3 separate regions of the Homo sapiens genome follow, and regions 2 and 3 are each linked to region 1. The links are contacts of gene promoters, found by promoter capture Hi-C in blood cells and fetal thymus (Javierre and others, 2016). All regions are on one chromosome and are shown on one strand. The core of a region is centred on a gene start or on the middle of the fragment in contact, and the rest is flanking DNA. Distances in the headings are between cores, read along the strand shown.

Region 1 (5,113 bases), core at 2,614-5,113:
AAAATCTCAGTGGACAAGGCATTCCCTGAGTATGACTTCTTATCTTAGAAGCCATAAAAAAAAGGGTTGGCCGGGAGTGGTGGCTCATGCCTGTAACCCCAGCACTTTGGGAGGCTCAGGTGGGCGGATCACTTGAGGTCAGGAGTTCAAGACCATCCTGGCCAGCATGGTGAAACCCTGTCTCTACTAAAAAAAAAACACAAAAATTAGCCGGGTGTGGTGGTGGGCACCTGTAATCCCAGCCATACGGAAGGCTGAGGCAAGAGAATCACTTGAACCCAGGAGGCGGAGGTTGCTGTGAGCTGAGATGGTGCCACTGCACTCCAGCCTGGGAGACAGAGCAAGATACTGTCTCAAAAAAAAAAAAAAAAAAAAAAAAAAAAAAAATGCCAGGCGTGGTGGCTTACGCCTGTAATCCCAGCACTTCGGAGGCCGAGGCGGGCGGATCACCTGAGATTGGAAGTTCGAGATTGGAAGTTCGAGACCACCCTGACCAACATGGAGAAACCCCATCTCTACTAAAAATACAAAATTAGCCAGGCACGGTGGTGCATACCTGTAATCCCAGCTACTCTGTCTCAAAAAAAAAAAAAAAAAAAAATTAGCCAGGTGTGGTGGTGCATGTCTGTAGTCCCAGCTACTCAGGAGGCTGAGGCAGAAGAATTACTTGAACCTGGGGGGCAGAGGTTGCAGTGACTGGAGATCATGCCACTGTACTCCAACCTGGATGACAAAGCGAGACTCTGTCTCAAAAAAAAAAAAAAAAGAAAAGAAAGAAAGGGTCAATGCAGGGGGTCCCCAACCCCCTGGCCAGTACCAGTTGGTGGCCTGTTAGGAACCAGGCAGCACAGCAGGACATGAGCTCACAAAGCTTCTTCTATATTTACAACAGCTCCCCATTGCTAACATTACTGCCTGAGCTCCACTTCCTTTCAGATCAGGCACAGCATTAGATTCTCATAGGAGCTTGAACACTATTGTGAACTGCACATTGAGGGATCTAGGCTGTGTGCTCCTTATGAGAATCTAAAGCCTGATGATCTGTCATCCCCAGATGGGACCATCTAGTTACAAGAAAACAAGTTCAGGGCTCCCACTGATTCTATATTACAGTGAGTTGTATAATTATTTCATTATATATTACAACGTAATAATAATAGAAATAAAATGCACAATAAATGTAATGCGCTTGAATCATCCTGAAACCATCCTCCCCTACAACCCCCGTTGGTGGAAAAACTGACTTCCGTGAAACCAGTCCCTAGTGCCAAAAAGGTTGGGGACCGCTGGTTAATGAACTGCATTGCATAAAAACACTTTCTGCCTAGTAAGAAAAACCAACAACCCAAGACAAAAAAAAAATAACCCAAGAGAAAAAAGGGCTAAGAATATTAACATACACACCCCAGAATGGGAAATACAAATAGCTTCCAAAACAGTATAATATGTTCAACTTCACTTACAATAAGAAAAATACAGTAAGTATACTTTACAAATTAGAAAAGATAAAAAAGTATGGTAACAATTAGTAGAAGTGGGAGGAAAGAGGCACATTCACACAATACTAGTGAAAGTATAAATTGGTACAACTCCTATAGAGAGCAATTTGGCAATAACTGTCCAAGTTAAAATATCCTTTTAAAAAATGTAGGAGTCTTAGCAATGGAAACAAAAAAAACTTGGAGAACTTGATTCTACAGATTCACTTGCACATGTACAAAACAGTGGATGTACAAGTGTATTCACTGCTGCACTGTTTCTAATACCACAAGAGTAGAAATAGCCTAAACGTCCATCAACTGAAAATTGGTTAAAGCAAATGCTAGAACATCTAGGTATGTACATGTAAGAAAAAGGTAACGATGACTGCTCTACAGAGGGGGACTAGGTAGTTGAGGATGGGGGCTGCCAGAGTTACTTTTCACTGCCTATGTTACACTTTCTGAATTTCAAATCAATATATATGACCTATTAAAAATAATTTTTTTTTGAGATGGAGTCTGGCTCTGTCGCCCAGGCTGGAGTGCAGTGGTGCAATCTCGGCTCACTGCAACCTCCGCCTCCCAGGTTCAAGCGATTCTCCTGCCTCAGCCGCCCAAGCAGCTGGGATTACAGGCACCCACCACCATGCCTAGCTAATTTTTGTATTTTTAGTAGAGATGGGGTTTCACCATGTTGGCCAGGCCAGGCTGATCTCAAGCTCCTGACCTCAGGTGATCCACCCGCCTCAACCTCCCAAAGTGCTGGGATTACAGGCGTGAGCCACAGCACCAGGCCTTTTTTTTTTTTTTTTTTTTTTTGAGACAGTCTCACTCTGTTGCCCAGGCTGGAGTGCAGTGGTGTGATCTCGGCTCACTGCAGCCTCCACCCTCCTGGGTTCAAGCAATTCTCCTGCCTCAGCCTCCCGAGTAGCTGGGATTACAGGCGCCCACCATCATGCGCAGCTAATTTTTGTATTTTTAGTAGAGACGGGGTTTCACCATGTTGGCCAGGCTGGTCTGGAACTCCTGACCTCAGGTGATCCACCCACGTCAGTCTCGCAAAGTGCTGGGATTATAAGTGTGAGCCACCGCAAACGGCCTATAATATTTTAAAATTGTTTTTAAGTGAGAGAAGGGGATATGCTAGGAGGTATGCCAGCTCCAGAAAGCACATTGCCTAGAATACTATGGTAAATAAGTAGATTTTACAGAGAGGACAATGAGAAATTAATGAAAGATTTTAAGCAGATAAATAAAAGTCAGATTTGTGCTCCCCAAACCACAGCTACCTTTAGGGATGACAGCTTAACGTTTAATATAGAATTTAAGAGACAAAGATAGGTTATGTGATTTGCCTAAAGTCACTAAGCGAATAAATGGCAAAACCAGCTGGGCACTGCAGCGCGGGCTATGATCGCTCCATTGCACTCCAGCCTGGACGACAGAGCGAGACCCCATCTCTAAAAACACACACACACACACACACACACACACACACACATTTTTTTTTTTTTTTGAGACAGAGTTTCGCTCGTTGCCCAGGCTGGAGTGCAATGGGGCGATCTCGGCTCACCGCAACCTCCGCCTCCCGGGTTCAAGCGATTCTCCTGCCTCAGTCTCCCGAGTAGCTGGGATTACAGACATGCTCCACCACGCCCAGCTAATTTTGTATTTTTAGTAGAGACGGGGTTTTTCCATGTTGGTCAGGCTGATCTCGAACTTCCGACCTCAGGTGATCCGCCCGCCTCGGCCTCCCAAAGTGCTGGGATCACAGGCCTCAGCCACCGAGCCCGGCCTAAAATAATCATTTTTAAAAATCACAATCATAAATGGCAAAACCAGGTTTTTTGCTAATATGATCGAGGTGAAACATCAAGTTAGAAATCCCCTAATTAGCTTTCCGAGTCCTCTAACCTCGCACACTCTAATCTCACCGTTGGGAAATACATGGGGGTAACAACCCTGCAAACGCCTGAAAATATGGTTATCTTTAGAATTTACGAAGATAAATGTGATTAGGCACATGTGGAAGAAGTTCAAGAGACTGTAAATGAGGGAGGCCAGGTTTCGCGACTATTAAACCAGGTGGCTTTTTCCTTCAGCATCCCCAGGAGAAGTACGAACGCGACTACAACAGCCGGCACAAATGGGATCATGCCTGAAGTACCCATGGGGCACAGTAGAAAGAGCAGCAGGAAGCCGCGGGTAAGGAGAGGGGATGCCTGTGTGCTTACATGTAAAGAGAGAAGTAAGCCACCTACTCACACTCGTACTTCCTATTGACTGGCGGATACTTGGCCTTGATCGCCTTCTGTTCTTCAGTCAAATTGTAATCTCTAACATCTTCCTCTTCCTGCGCCATGACTGCAGGATTAGACACTCTACTTCCGCCCTTCATCCACCGGACTTCGGCCCGGAGTTACTACTTCCGCTCTAGACTCCGCCCCTTGGCGCACACCCTTAAAGGACCACACTCCTTTCTCGGAGTTGGCTGTTGACCTACTTTAGTCCCTACCCTGCCGCTTGGATCGCATATTTAAAAAGCCAAAACCCCATCTTCTGCGATTCCTTCATTACTAGTTCTTTCCAAAGACTAAGGAAAAACGTTGAAGGGCACCTTGAATGAAACCCGTCTGGGTCTGACTGGCGAGGTTCTTTCCCCCGCTTCACCCCCAAAATTGATAACTAGACCCGAAGGCATTCTAGATTTTTCATCTCAGTACTCTGAAAGGGTCGTAAGCTTAATAGCCTTCAAGAAAATGGCTGCCCTCTTGCCGCGGGAGTGTGCGGACCAAACCTCTCTCACGTGACCCTGACCGGGCGCAGTCCCGTCAACGCCGGCGCGCGCAATCGCTGGAAGTCGGCTCGGGGAGGCGTGGGGGGAGGGGCGGAGCGCGCGCCTCGGTCCCCGCGGAAAGCTACTCCGCGCGTCTGGATTGGTCGCGAACGCGGCTTCCCCGCCCATCCCGCCATTAGGAGCGCTCCCATTGGCTGATGTTGGCGCGAAGGTGCGCGAGTCAGCCCTCGCGCTGGGGGCGCAGGAAACAATAGAGGCCGCGCGCACAGAGCGAGCTCTTGCAGCCTCCCCGCCCCTCCCGCAACGCTCGACCCCAGGATTCCCCCGGCTCGCCTGCCCGCCATGGCCGACAAGGAAGGTGAGGGTGCCGGGGCCGACCCAGGAGGGCAGTGGGTGCCTGGGCTGAGCCGCGGCCTCGACATGGCCTAACAGTGAGGGCAGGCCCGAGTTTGCCGAGTGCAGTCCCCGGTACTGAAGGCGTGAAGAGGGAACTCCCCGCGGGGCGTGCTAACGGCTCGCCAGTTCCCTGGGACCGATTTCGGTCGCAGCTGGCGAAGCCAGCGGTGGGGCCCCCGGCCAGTGTTTGTTTCTCTTCCTGCCTCCGATATCGGTTTCTCGGCCTCTGTCCCGAGCGTGGGGACACCGCTTCCTACCCACAAGGCTCGGAGCTCGGGCCTCCTCGTCGGGCTTGTGAGTTTCGGCGCGCACGAGCGTGCTCCGAAGGCCTGGCTGGCCCCTTGGCCTGGAACGGGTAACGGAGTGTTTGGCGGGGATGGCCCGAGGAGTTTCGGCGCCGCGAAAGTGGAGAGTGTGGATGCCTCTGCCGTGGGGATTT
Region 2 (5,113 bases), core at 831-3,330, 1.6 Mb before region 1:
AGACCCCCATCTCTATTATTTTATTAAAAAATAAGGCTCTAAGAAGGCCAATGGAGGTTGGGCACGGTGGCTCATGCCTGTAATCCCAGCACTTTGGGAGGCCGAGGCGGGTGGATCATGAGGTCAGGAGATCAAGACCATCCTGGCTAACATGGTGAAACCCCGACTCTACTGAAAACACAGAAATTAGCCAGGCTTGGTGGCACGCGCCTGTAATCCCAGCTACTTGGGAGGCTGAGGCAGGAGAATCACTTGAACCAGGGAGGCAGAGGTCGCACCACTGTGCTCCAGCCGGGCGACAGAGCGAGACTCTGTCTCAAAATAAATAAATAAATAAAATAATTTTTTTAAATTATAAAAAAAAAAGAAAGCCTCACTATACAAACCAGAAGCCTCAGTTGGGTGTGGTGGCTCATACCTACAATCCCAGCACTTTGGGAGGCTGAGGTGGGCAGACAGCTTGAGCCCAGGAGTTCAAGACCAGCCTGGGCAACATAGCAAGACCTATCTCTACTAAAAATAATTAGCCAGGCATGGTGGCATGTGCCTATAGTCCCAGCTACTAGGGAGGCTGAGGTGGGAGGATCATTTGAGCCCAGGAGCGGGAGGCTGCACACCCGCTTGGGCGACAGAGTGAGTTCCTGTCTCAAAAACAAACAAACAAACAGAAGCTTCAACACGGTAATAGTGTAATGAATATATCGCAGACATTGTCTCATCACAAAAGCATTGAAAGGTAGCCATTATTATTTCTATTTTACAAATGAAAACACTAAGGTACAGGAGGAAAATGGGATGTTTCCAAGGCCATTCAACTAGCAAGTAGCAGAGAAAGGATTCAAACCCTAATCGTTCCCAAGCTTACTTCTTTCTACTAACCCCTTGCAGGAGTAACTCAACAATATGTCTCATTTGTATCCTCTACTCCTCTGGAAGACCAACAAAGAATCCCTCAAATGTTACTATGAAACACTAAAGTTCCTTAAAACCAAAAACTGCATCTGTACTTAAGATAGAACACTTGCCAGCCTGTGGGTGCTTTTAAAAAATGCTACAAAGTGTCCGGACACGGTGGCTTACGCCTGTAATCCCAGCACTTTGGGAGGCGGAGGCAGGCGCATCTCCAGGTCAGAATTCCAGACCAGCCTGGCCAATATACTGAAACCCCGTCTCTACTAAAAATATAAAAAGTAGCCAGGTGTGGTGGCACGCACCTGTAGTCCCAGCTACTCGGGAGACTGAGGCAGAAGAATCGCTTGAACCCAGGAGGCGGAGGTTGCAGTGAGCCGAGATCAAGGCACTGCACTCCAGCCTGGACGACAGAGTGAGACTCCATCTCAAAAAAAAAAAAAAAAAGCTACAAAGTAAATAAATCAGTTACCAATTAGGACACACCTGTCCACAGCCACGGTCTAATTTCAAAGCCATCGGCCTAACAGTCTACTGCTACAAATGCTTTATCTCTTCTCCCAACCCCCACTGTGATGCTTCAAAAACACATGAATAACAAATCTACTATCTCTCTGTTGAATAAATAAACCTTCTGATAAAGTAGCATTTGCTTCTCACAACTAAATTCATGTTTTTGAAGCCAGCCTAAGAAGACACAATGGAATTTGTAATTTGTTTAAAGCCTAATTTGGAAATGCCTAGTCTAGGTTAAGAATTCCAATCCATCAGAACCTTAGCAGGGTACTGGAGTAGTCTAACCTAGACACTAGTCCCTGCTCAAGTACCAAAACCAAAAAGTCATAGCCCGGTTTCACCATCGGTCTTTCAAAAGTGCAAACCAGCCTAATGCCTCCCTGCTTGGTTTTTTAAAGAATTCATTACTCTCTTAGTACTAATACTAGACAGTCCCATTCTGTTCTAAAAGGAAATCTCGACCTAACAATCTTTGTTCTAGAGCAGGCCAAGAGTTCCAAAACCCAAGTTCTTTCACTAAACAAAACTACCTGTTTCCTCATCTAGAAAATGAAAGAAATCCTTCCTCTATGACTCTCAATGTTTTGGGTTTTTCTTAATGAAAATGAGATAAATATAAAAGTTTTTGGTAAATTTAAAGTCATCGTGCTTAAGACTCTTAGAATTTAGTTACCCCTAGTTAAGGCAACTCCAGTCCCTAACAGAATTCCTAAAACAGCAAATGCAATCTTTTCTGAAATAAAAGCCTTCTCAAAATAGTTATCTAGGAGGCTGAGAGAAGGATAATGAGAGATTACCTAAGGAGGACAATGTACGTTATTCCAGTGATGGACACACAAAAAGCCCTGGCTTCACCACTACGCAATACACGCATGTACAAATTACACTTGTACCTCACAAATTATACAAATAAAAATTTTTAAAAGAAAAAAGTTATCTAACAAAGAATATCCACATAAAAGAGGAGTTTATCACTGACGCACACTAAACACACCTTCATTCTAAAAGGAATGGGGGAAAGAAAAGACTCCTATAAAAATGTTCAAACGAAACAATTGGCTTTTGTAAAGCTATCTGTATGCCCTAAGACTTCCTGCTTTACCTAAAGAGGCAAGGCAGTTTCTCAAACCAGAGAAAACCTGGCAGAACAGTTTCAAAGTGAGCAAATACCTAAGCAATTAACATGTTATCTTGGGTAGTTTTGTGGTATTTTGGCAAATACGGCACAAAAATTAAAAACTCAGTATCCTAAATATCAGAAAAGCTCACTAATACGTGTAGCATTTAAAATGTGATTTTTTTACAAATGACACCTTATAAGTACTTTAAGCAACTAGAAGTGCTCAGTCCAGCTACTCTTTCACAGCTTTCAAATGTTTACAAAGTTTTTTAAAATATCACTAATTGAGTTGAATTCAAAGGAACACGGTTTACTTTATTTCCATGGCTCACCTTTTACTAAAATGCTTAGTGGTTTAAAAGGTGTTTATTTTTACCACACTTAACAAACATTCTGTGGTCATAAATTTATCTTAAAACAGTTCATTTTAAACCTAAACTAAACAAATTCCAACTTCAAAAAGCTGTGGCCTTGAACAAAATGAATTCAATTGTCGCTAAAGCAAAACACTAACTCAAAGTTCAGAATCCGGAGAGCGTTTCCCAAGAGCCCAGATAAAGAATCAACAGCCCCCCAGTGTTTTATAAAGTTAAAATTAGCAAAGGGTCAAAATGTTTATTTTGCTTACGAAAACTGCATCGGAAGCCACATTTCTTGGGGTTGGGCCTGTCTTAGTAAGTTTTTAGGTGCTTTCAAGAAACAAAATGCTAAGCCTATTGTTTCAGAAGTTAACTGACTTTAAAACAGAACCCAGGAAAAGCTTCATAAAATCTTATTCTTAATTAATCCCAGTAATAACAGGAATTGAGCAAAATGGTATCGAGGGCTGAGAACAGTGTTTTCTTAATTGAACAATAAAAGGTAACAATCTAAGTTACGGGAGAATAAAGCCTTCTCTGGTAATGCTGTGTGTGGGTTTCTGGCTTTGTTTTTTCAGCGGGGGGGGGGGGGGGGGCTATAGGAGGGAAAAGTTACAGGAGTGTATTCCTCACTTGACGTGGGAATGGTACTGACAAGTAAAACAAATGATCTATGTTTACCAAGCATGTTTGTGAGGACTAAAACTAGTATTGTGTATCTAGATTTTCCTACTAGCAAGGGGTGAACCCCTCTTTGAGTGAAGAGAGACACCAACACCGGGAGGCTCAAAAAGGAAGAACCCACCAAAAACACAAGCTCACACGGAAACAAAAGGCCACAGCAACCCAGGAGCCTAAAAAGCATTCTGAAACTTCCTGATCGCCACTTCTCCACATTTAAGGCTCGCAAAGTTCCCCCACGGTGAATCTCGCCTGTGGACAAGGGCCACGGCTGCTTCTAAAGCGATTTATTGTTCCTCCTCCTCCGGCGCTGCCACGGAAGCTCAAGAAGTCGAAGAAATCGGGGTGGCACAGAATTACACTTCATGGCCACACAGAAGACTCGGGGCTTCGCAAACCCATCAAAAAAAGCAACCCGAATGGCAACATCAATCTTCGGTGGTTCCCAACAGGGCCAGGCAAAAATGTAGAGGCACGTCTACGCCCTGGGCTCGGGCCTAAACCCCCAGCATTTTCCTAGCTTCGACCCCGCTCCCCACCCCCTCCCTCCTTTGATAACAATAGGGGCCTTGCTGCTGACTCCAAAACATGTACGAGGAACAGCGAGTGAGAAGCCTCAGCCAGGGCCCCGGCGGCTTTTCCAAAGCCCTTCTCACCCCCACAACCACTCTCAAACACCAATATGAAGGGACAATCTGCTCGTTAGGGGTCCGGAGCAGCGTTTGGGGCCGGTGGGGTGCGGATACTCACGGGCGGAGCGGTAGGATGAAGATGGATTTCAGCCCCCCGATCTTCTCTCTCTGGCGCTCTCGCTCCCCCTTACCTTTCACTCCGACAACATGGCGGCCCACTGGGGACTGGGTTGGCGCGGTGCATCCTGGGATAGGCTCCGGCCCCGGCCCCGGCGGTGGCAGCGGCATGTGCGGAGAAGGCTGGCGGCTCTGGAACAGGTTGCCTGGTTGCCATGCCAACCCAGGGCCTGTGTGAACTCGGGAAACTCGCAGGCAACACAAACGCTGCGCGCGAGTGCCCGCCCGCTAGGCGAGCGCGCGCCGCCAGGGCCGAAGGCGGGGTCCCGCCGGCCCGCACCTGGGAGAACACGGCCTGGAGCTGGGCACGCGGGGTTGCGCCGGTGACGCTCCACCGAGTCTCGGACGCGCTCCTCGCGCCCGCCGCGCCCTCGGAAGCTTGCCCCCGAGCACCACAGCTAGCAGGGTTCGCGGACGGCCACCCGCACTGCCCTGGCCCCAGAGGTGCAGGGTTCAAACCCCTTCTCTGCAGCTTTCTAGCTCTGCGGCCTTATTTAAATCGACCTGCCTCCATTTCCACATTTGTACAATGAAGAAGAAAATAACCCCCACTTAACAGAATGGCCTGGAGGATTAAGTGGAATAATGTATGTTAAGTGCTTTTAGTCTTACTGTCTCAAACTAAACTCAAAATAGATTGAAGGCCGGGCGCGGTGGCTCACGCCTGTAATCCCTGGACTTTGGGAGGCTGAGGCGGGCGGATCATGAGGTCAGGAGAT
Region 3 (5,113 bases), core at 1,695-4,194, 1.0 Mb before region 1:
GGCACCATCTAGATACGTTCTAGATCAACCTGTAAGTGCACCAGTGGCCAAGCCACTGAGAGCCTGGGCTTTCTCTTTTTATTGTGTTTGATAGCTTGAAATAATTACTCTTAAGGCTAAGGCCAAATTCATGAGGTTTTTTTGTGGGGAGGGCAGGAAGCAGGCCCTGTCACCCACTCAGCAATCCTTGGGAGCTTTTCTACCCTAGAAGCTGTCATAGCTACTAGCAAGACTCCTTCACAGACAAGAATGGCTCACACAGATCTCAATTTAAAACTCTGCTCCCATCAGCTAAGTTCATGACTGTGGGCCCGTGGCTTCATCTCTCTGAGCCTGCTTCCTCACAAATAGAACAATTCCTTCCTCACTGGACTGTTCTGCAGATTATAAAAAATAAATGCAGCAAAATTCTGTCAGTTTAATTTTTAGCTAAAGAATCCTTTGATAACCAACCTGGGCAACATAGTAAGATCCCACCTCTACAAAAAATTTTTAAAAATCAGCCGGGCATGGTGGTACACATGTAGTCCCTGCTACTCGGGAGGCTAAAGCGGAAGGATCACTTGAGCCTAAGTTGGAGGCTGCAGTGAGCTGTGATTGTGCCACAACACTCCAGCCTGAGTAACAGAGGGAGACCCTGTCTCCAAAAAAAAAAAAAAAAAAAAAAAAGAGAGAGAGAAAGAAAGAATCCTTTGATAAAATAAATAAAACAAATACAAGAAAGTTGCTCTGGCTGAAGTAAGGTGGGAGCTCCAGAGCCCCTACAATATGGAACCCCCTCCCTTGCTACATTCTGAGGGGGCTCTGAAAACCCCTCACAGTGACTGAAAAGACAGTCTGAAAACCACTCACATAAGAAAAATAGTTTTTACAACAGTGCCTGGCATAAAGCAAATGATCAGTAAGTCATAGCTGCTATTGCTATATTAATTACTGTTATCAGCAAAGTCCTGGGCCAGGTGAACTGTGCGGGGTGGGGTATAAAGGAGAGTGAAGCAATCTGAAGGCACTCACAGTTAACAAGACTTAACATGTAGACACTGTGTAACGTCTAACAAAACAGCATAAGGAAAACAGGTGTTTGAAATGGAGACATAAGTCATGTGCCATAGGACTGCAAAGGAAGGAGGGTAAAATCAGGGAGTGTTTCCATGAGAGTGGCATTTGAGCTAGGACTTAGAGAACGAACAGGATTCCCAAGGGGTTGGAGAGGTGTGACAAGAGAAATACCCAGAAGACAAGTCACTTAACCTAACCCCCATTTTACAGATGGGGGAGGGAGGGAGGGACTTGCCCAAGTAATGCTGTGAGCTGGAGGAAGAGACAAGGCTGGACCACTCCCTTGCACCCAATGACTCCCCCTGCCTCCTGCTACAACACTCCTTCATTAAGCAATAGGGCTCAGGATTCCAGCATAGGATGGAAAGGGAGTGGGAACTCTGCAGAATCTGGGCACACCCAAAGAACAGGCCAGACACGAAGCCAGAAGTAGCTGCCCCACTATAAGCCCTGTGAGCAAAGCTATAAACCGCACCTGGCACCTAGGAAAACCCACCTAGGAAACCACCTATAAACCACCTAGGAAACATCCCCAGGCCAACAAAGCAGGTGCTGCCAGGCAGGTCTCCTGCCCTTCTGGCTATTGTAGTCTGGCAGCAATTAAACCCTTTCCTTTCTGTCCTGCATTTGAAGACCTCCTCTGTAGTTTACAAAGTACTTTCACAAACACAAACACTACAGGCAGAATCTTGCCAATGGCCTCCTAACAGAAAAAAGGAAGATGTTAGTTGCCCTCTTTTACAGATGAAGAAACTAAGCCACGGAGCTGTTAAAGGACTTCATTCAGCACGCATTTTCAGAGTGACAATATTGTACTAGGCTCTGTAGTAGATCTGAGGACACAAGTAAATGAAGTCCTGCCCTTAAGGGGCCCACAGATAATTGTGATACAATCTGATCAGTGCCATCAGAAAAATCTACTTATGTGCTATCAAGGAAGCTTAGATGGAGGAATTTGTGCTGTTTGCAGAATGAATAAATGAACAATGTATGAAGTGGGTCAAGGAAAGCTTCCTGGAGGAAGTGGCAGTGATATTGGAAATGGTCCTTGAAGGATGCATAGACATTTTCCAAAAGGCAGGCAGGGAAGGACACTCCAGACAGAAGAGAGAAGAAAGACAAACGCACAGACTTAAGAGTGAGCATAGTGCATTCAGGGAATGAGTTAAACCGCAGAGCCAAGAATGCAGTGTGAACCCAGAAAGGCAGGCCCTCTATACACTCGTTGACCAAGCACCTCTCCCCCTGCATTTCAGTTAGCCGTGAGGTATCAGTGTCTAAGAGTAGTTTCTGTCTAGCATCTCCCCCACCCAACAGTAAGCTCCCCAGGGGCAGACACTGCGCCTCACTCATCATGGCACCCCAGGGCCCAGCACAGTGCCTGGCACCTGCAAGCCTCCACAAATATTTGGACAAATGAACACCACTCTAAAGAGTTTTGTTGGGGCTTTATGCCGGAGAAAACAGAGCACTATAGAAGGGTTTCCAATAGGAGAGGAACGTGATGAGAACCTTGTTTAGAGAAGTAACCAGCGGCGGTGTGGAGGATGAGCCAGTGAGGGAGGCAGTAGCCCAGGTGCTGGGCAGGCAGGGCATGAACCAGACAGCACACTTGGGGATGAAGAGAACGGAATGGATTCTGAAGCTATTTCAGAGATAGACCAGACATGACTTGGTGACTAATTAGATTAGGAAAGAGATGGAGGAGGAGTGAGGAAAGTGTTCAGAATGACTCGGGTTTCTAGCTTTTGCACAAGATGAAGGAGGTGGAGCCAACTGAGACAGAATGCAGGCTGCACAGGAAGTTTGGGGAAGAAGATGAGGTGGTCCCCACCTCACAGAGGGTCACCCAGTGTCACTGAGTTGTTAGCAAAGGTCTGAACCAGAAATGAAAAACAGCATCCCTGACTCCACGTTCTTTTACACTACTCCATGCTCCCAGCCCTTTTTAGAGTTTTTCCAAGAGTTATTTCATACTGATAAACAGGATTGTGAAGGCAGGTGGAGGGGAAGGACAGGAAGAGTTCAGTAACTGCAGCTTCTGAAGCAACACAGAAAAACTATCTCTAGGGCTCTGGCTGATTGCAAATAAGCTACATCTGATGCCCTGGGGGGACTGGGGGCAACAAACATTTACTGAGGCTCTGCTAGGTGCTTCCAGTTCAACCAGCTCTCACTAATCCTCAGTCCTGTGAGGTAAACAGTGTCATCTCCATTTTGCAGATGAGAAAATTAAGGGGCAGAGAGTTTAATAACATGCCTGAGATCATGCAGCTAGAATGGGCAAGTTGGGATTCAAGTCAGGGTCTGCATGACTCTACACTACCCCCTTCTGTTTGTTCACTCAATAAATGAGTGAGTGCCTAGCATGTGTCTGTGTGAGGGACTGTGCTAAATGTCTTTGTCAAATATAATGAATTTCTACTGTGGACAGAGGTAGAGGGGAAGGCTGGATTGGGTGATCTCTCAGAGCCTTCAAGCCCAGAAATCAGGGACTCTTAGAAAAATCTCATTCTTTTTCGTCCCAGCACCTAGAGTCACTTTGAGAGCCAAGCCACATTTTGGAAGACACCCCAAAGACTCTTCAGTTCAACCTCTCAGTTAATAATGGAATCTCTGCAGAACCACCTGGAATCTCTACCTGCACTTGCGCAAGCAGTAGGGAGCTTACCTCCTCCCAAATAACCACCTCAGAAAGTCCGGTATTTTTTTTTTCTTTCCAGTTCTGAGGACTCAAGTCTTCTAACCTCAAGACCCCTGTGAAGCTTAAAGGTATCAACGGCTGTTCCAAGCTGAGCCCTGATGACGAATGGAGGAGGGAGCATTGCAAAGACAAGTTTGTACCCCAGAGCTACCCTTCAAGTGCACAGGAGGAGGTGGGAAGCCCAAACTAAGGGGTTAAACAATCACAGGAAGACAAGAGGAACAGTTCAAGCATTCACCAGCAGAGCCACTTGAAATAGGAGAGAAGCACGCAACCAATAAACAATGAGCCAAGAACCATCCCCAGACTTCAATTACCTCTGTGCTCACACTTTCAAATCTTTCCAGCTTCATCACTCCTGAGCTACAGACCCACATATCCAGCAGCCTACTGGACCTTCCCTCCAAACCCATGCCTCCCTGTGTTCTCATCTCAGTGAATGGAGCTCCGTTCTGCTTAATCATCCAAACCTAAGGCCAAGTTTTCTCAAATCTACCTCCCAAGTGCTTCTCAAATCTCCTCTACCAGGTCACAGTTCTCTTTAGCCTAGATTACCTCAATAGCGTCAAAACCGGTATCCCTGCCTCCTGTCTCTCCTGCTTCAATCCATTCTCACAGCACCCCACAGTAAGCACTCCAAAGCACAAATGGGACAAAACACTTCACTGGCTCCCTCACTACTCTTAGGATGAAGTCACACTCCCCAAAAAGGCATACAAGGCCCTTTGGGATCTGGCCCTTGCTTACCTTTCTAGTCTTATTTCCTACCCCTTTCCCCCACATCACTACAACTACACTGAACTTCTTAAAGTTCCTCCAAAATACTAGGCTGTCTTACCTGCTTCATGGGCTTTGTGCAGCTATTTCCTCTGCTGGAATAGCATTCCTTTCTTCACTCAGCTAATTTCTACCAGTGATTCAGTTGTTGGCTTAAATATCACCTCTTTTAAAAATGCACCCCTAGACTGAGTTAGGTATCTCACTCTCCCGTGCTGTACCTTACACTTACTCCCATTGAATACTTATCACATTGCCTCTTCAATCTGCATAACTGCATTACTCCTCCACTTGGAGTATTCTACATGCCCAACACCATACCTAGCACTTTACGTGGATTTTCTCATTTAATCTTTAGAGTAATTCTGAGGTAGATACTATTATGACCCCATTCTAAAGAAGGGAAAACTAGTCCAGGCGTGGTGGCTCACGCCTGTAATCCCAACACTGTGGGAGGCTGAGGCAGGTGGATCACCTGAGGTTAGGAGTTTGAGACCAGCCTGGCCAACATGGCGAAACCCCGTCTCTACTAAAAATACAAAAAATTAGCCAGGTGTGGTGGCGTGCGCCTGT

What was found. Contacts are between HindIII fragments. The CHiCAGO score rates a contact against its expected background, and 5 or more counts as called.
Region 2: a contact is called between a fragment that was not itself captured here and the fragment with the promoter of ZBTB8OS in region 1, in 4 of 17 cell types (naive CD4 T cells, fetal thymus, total CD8 T cells and 1 more). The highest score is 9.0, in naive CD4 T cells.
Region 3: a fragment that was not itself captured here is called in contact with the fragment with the promoter of ZBTB8OS in region 1 in 1 of 17 cell types (naive CD4 T cells); the score reaches 7.1 in naive CD4 T cells.

What each region holds. Positions count from the first base shown.
Region 1 is chr1:32,646,687-32,651,799 of GRCh38, forward strand. ZBTB8OS (zinc finger and BTB domain containing 8 opposite strand) reads right to left here and starts at 3,864. Exons shown (of 7, transcript NM_178547.5): 1 at 3,747-3,864. The coding sequence starts at 3,843. It overlaps RBBP4 (RB binding protein 4, chromatin remodeling factor), which reads left to right and starts at 4,522. Exons shown (of 12, transcript NM_005610.3): 1 at 4,522-4,636. The coding sequence starts at 4,621. RefSeq lists silencers at 875-944, 4,201-4,770 and enhancers at 2,461-2,600, 3,734-4,321, 4,322-4,910, 5,071-5,113. The HindIII fragment of the contact is 3,350 bases long and covers 870-4,219 here.
Region 2 is chr1:31,061,281-31,066,393 of GRCh38, forward strand. It overlaps PUM1 (pumilio RNA binding family member 1), which reads right to left and starts at 4,437. Exons shown (of 22, transcript NM_001020658.2): 1 at 4,336-4,437. RefSeq lists enhancers at 4,094-4,413, 4,281-5,113 and a silencer at 4,524-4,743. The HindIII fragment of the contact is 2,445 bases long and covers 859-3,303 here.
Region 3 is chr1:31,636,999-31,642,111 of GRCh38, forward strand. All of the region lies in intron 1 of PEF1 (penta-EF-hand domain containing 1), which reads right to left. Among named protein-coding and RNA genes, the nearest start is that of PEF1-AS1, 4.6 kb to the right of the region's middle. The HindIII fragment of the contact is 1,755 bases long and covers 2,068-3,822 here.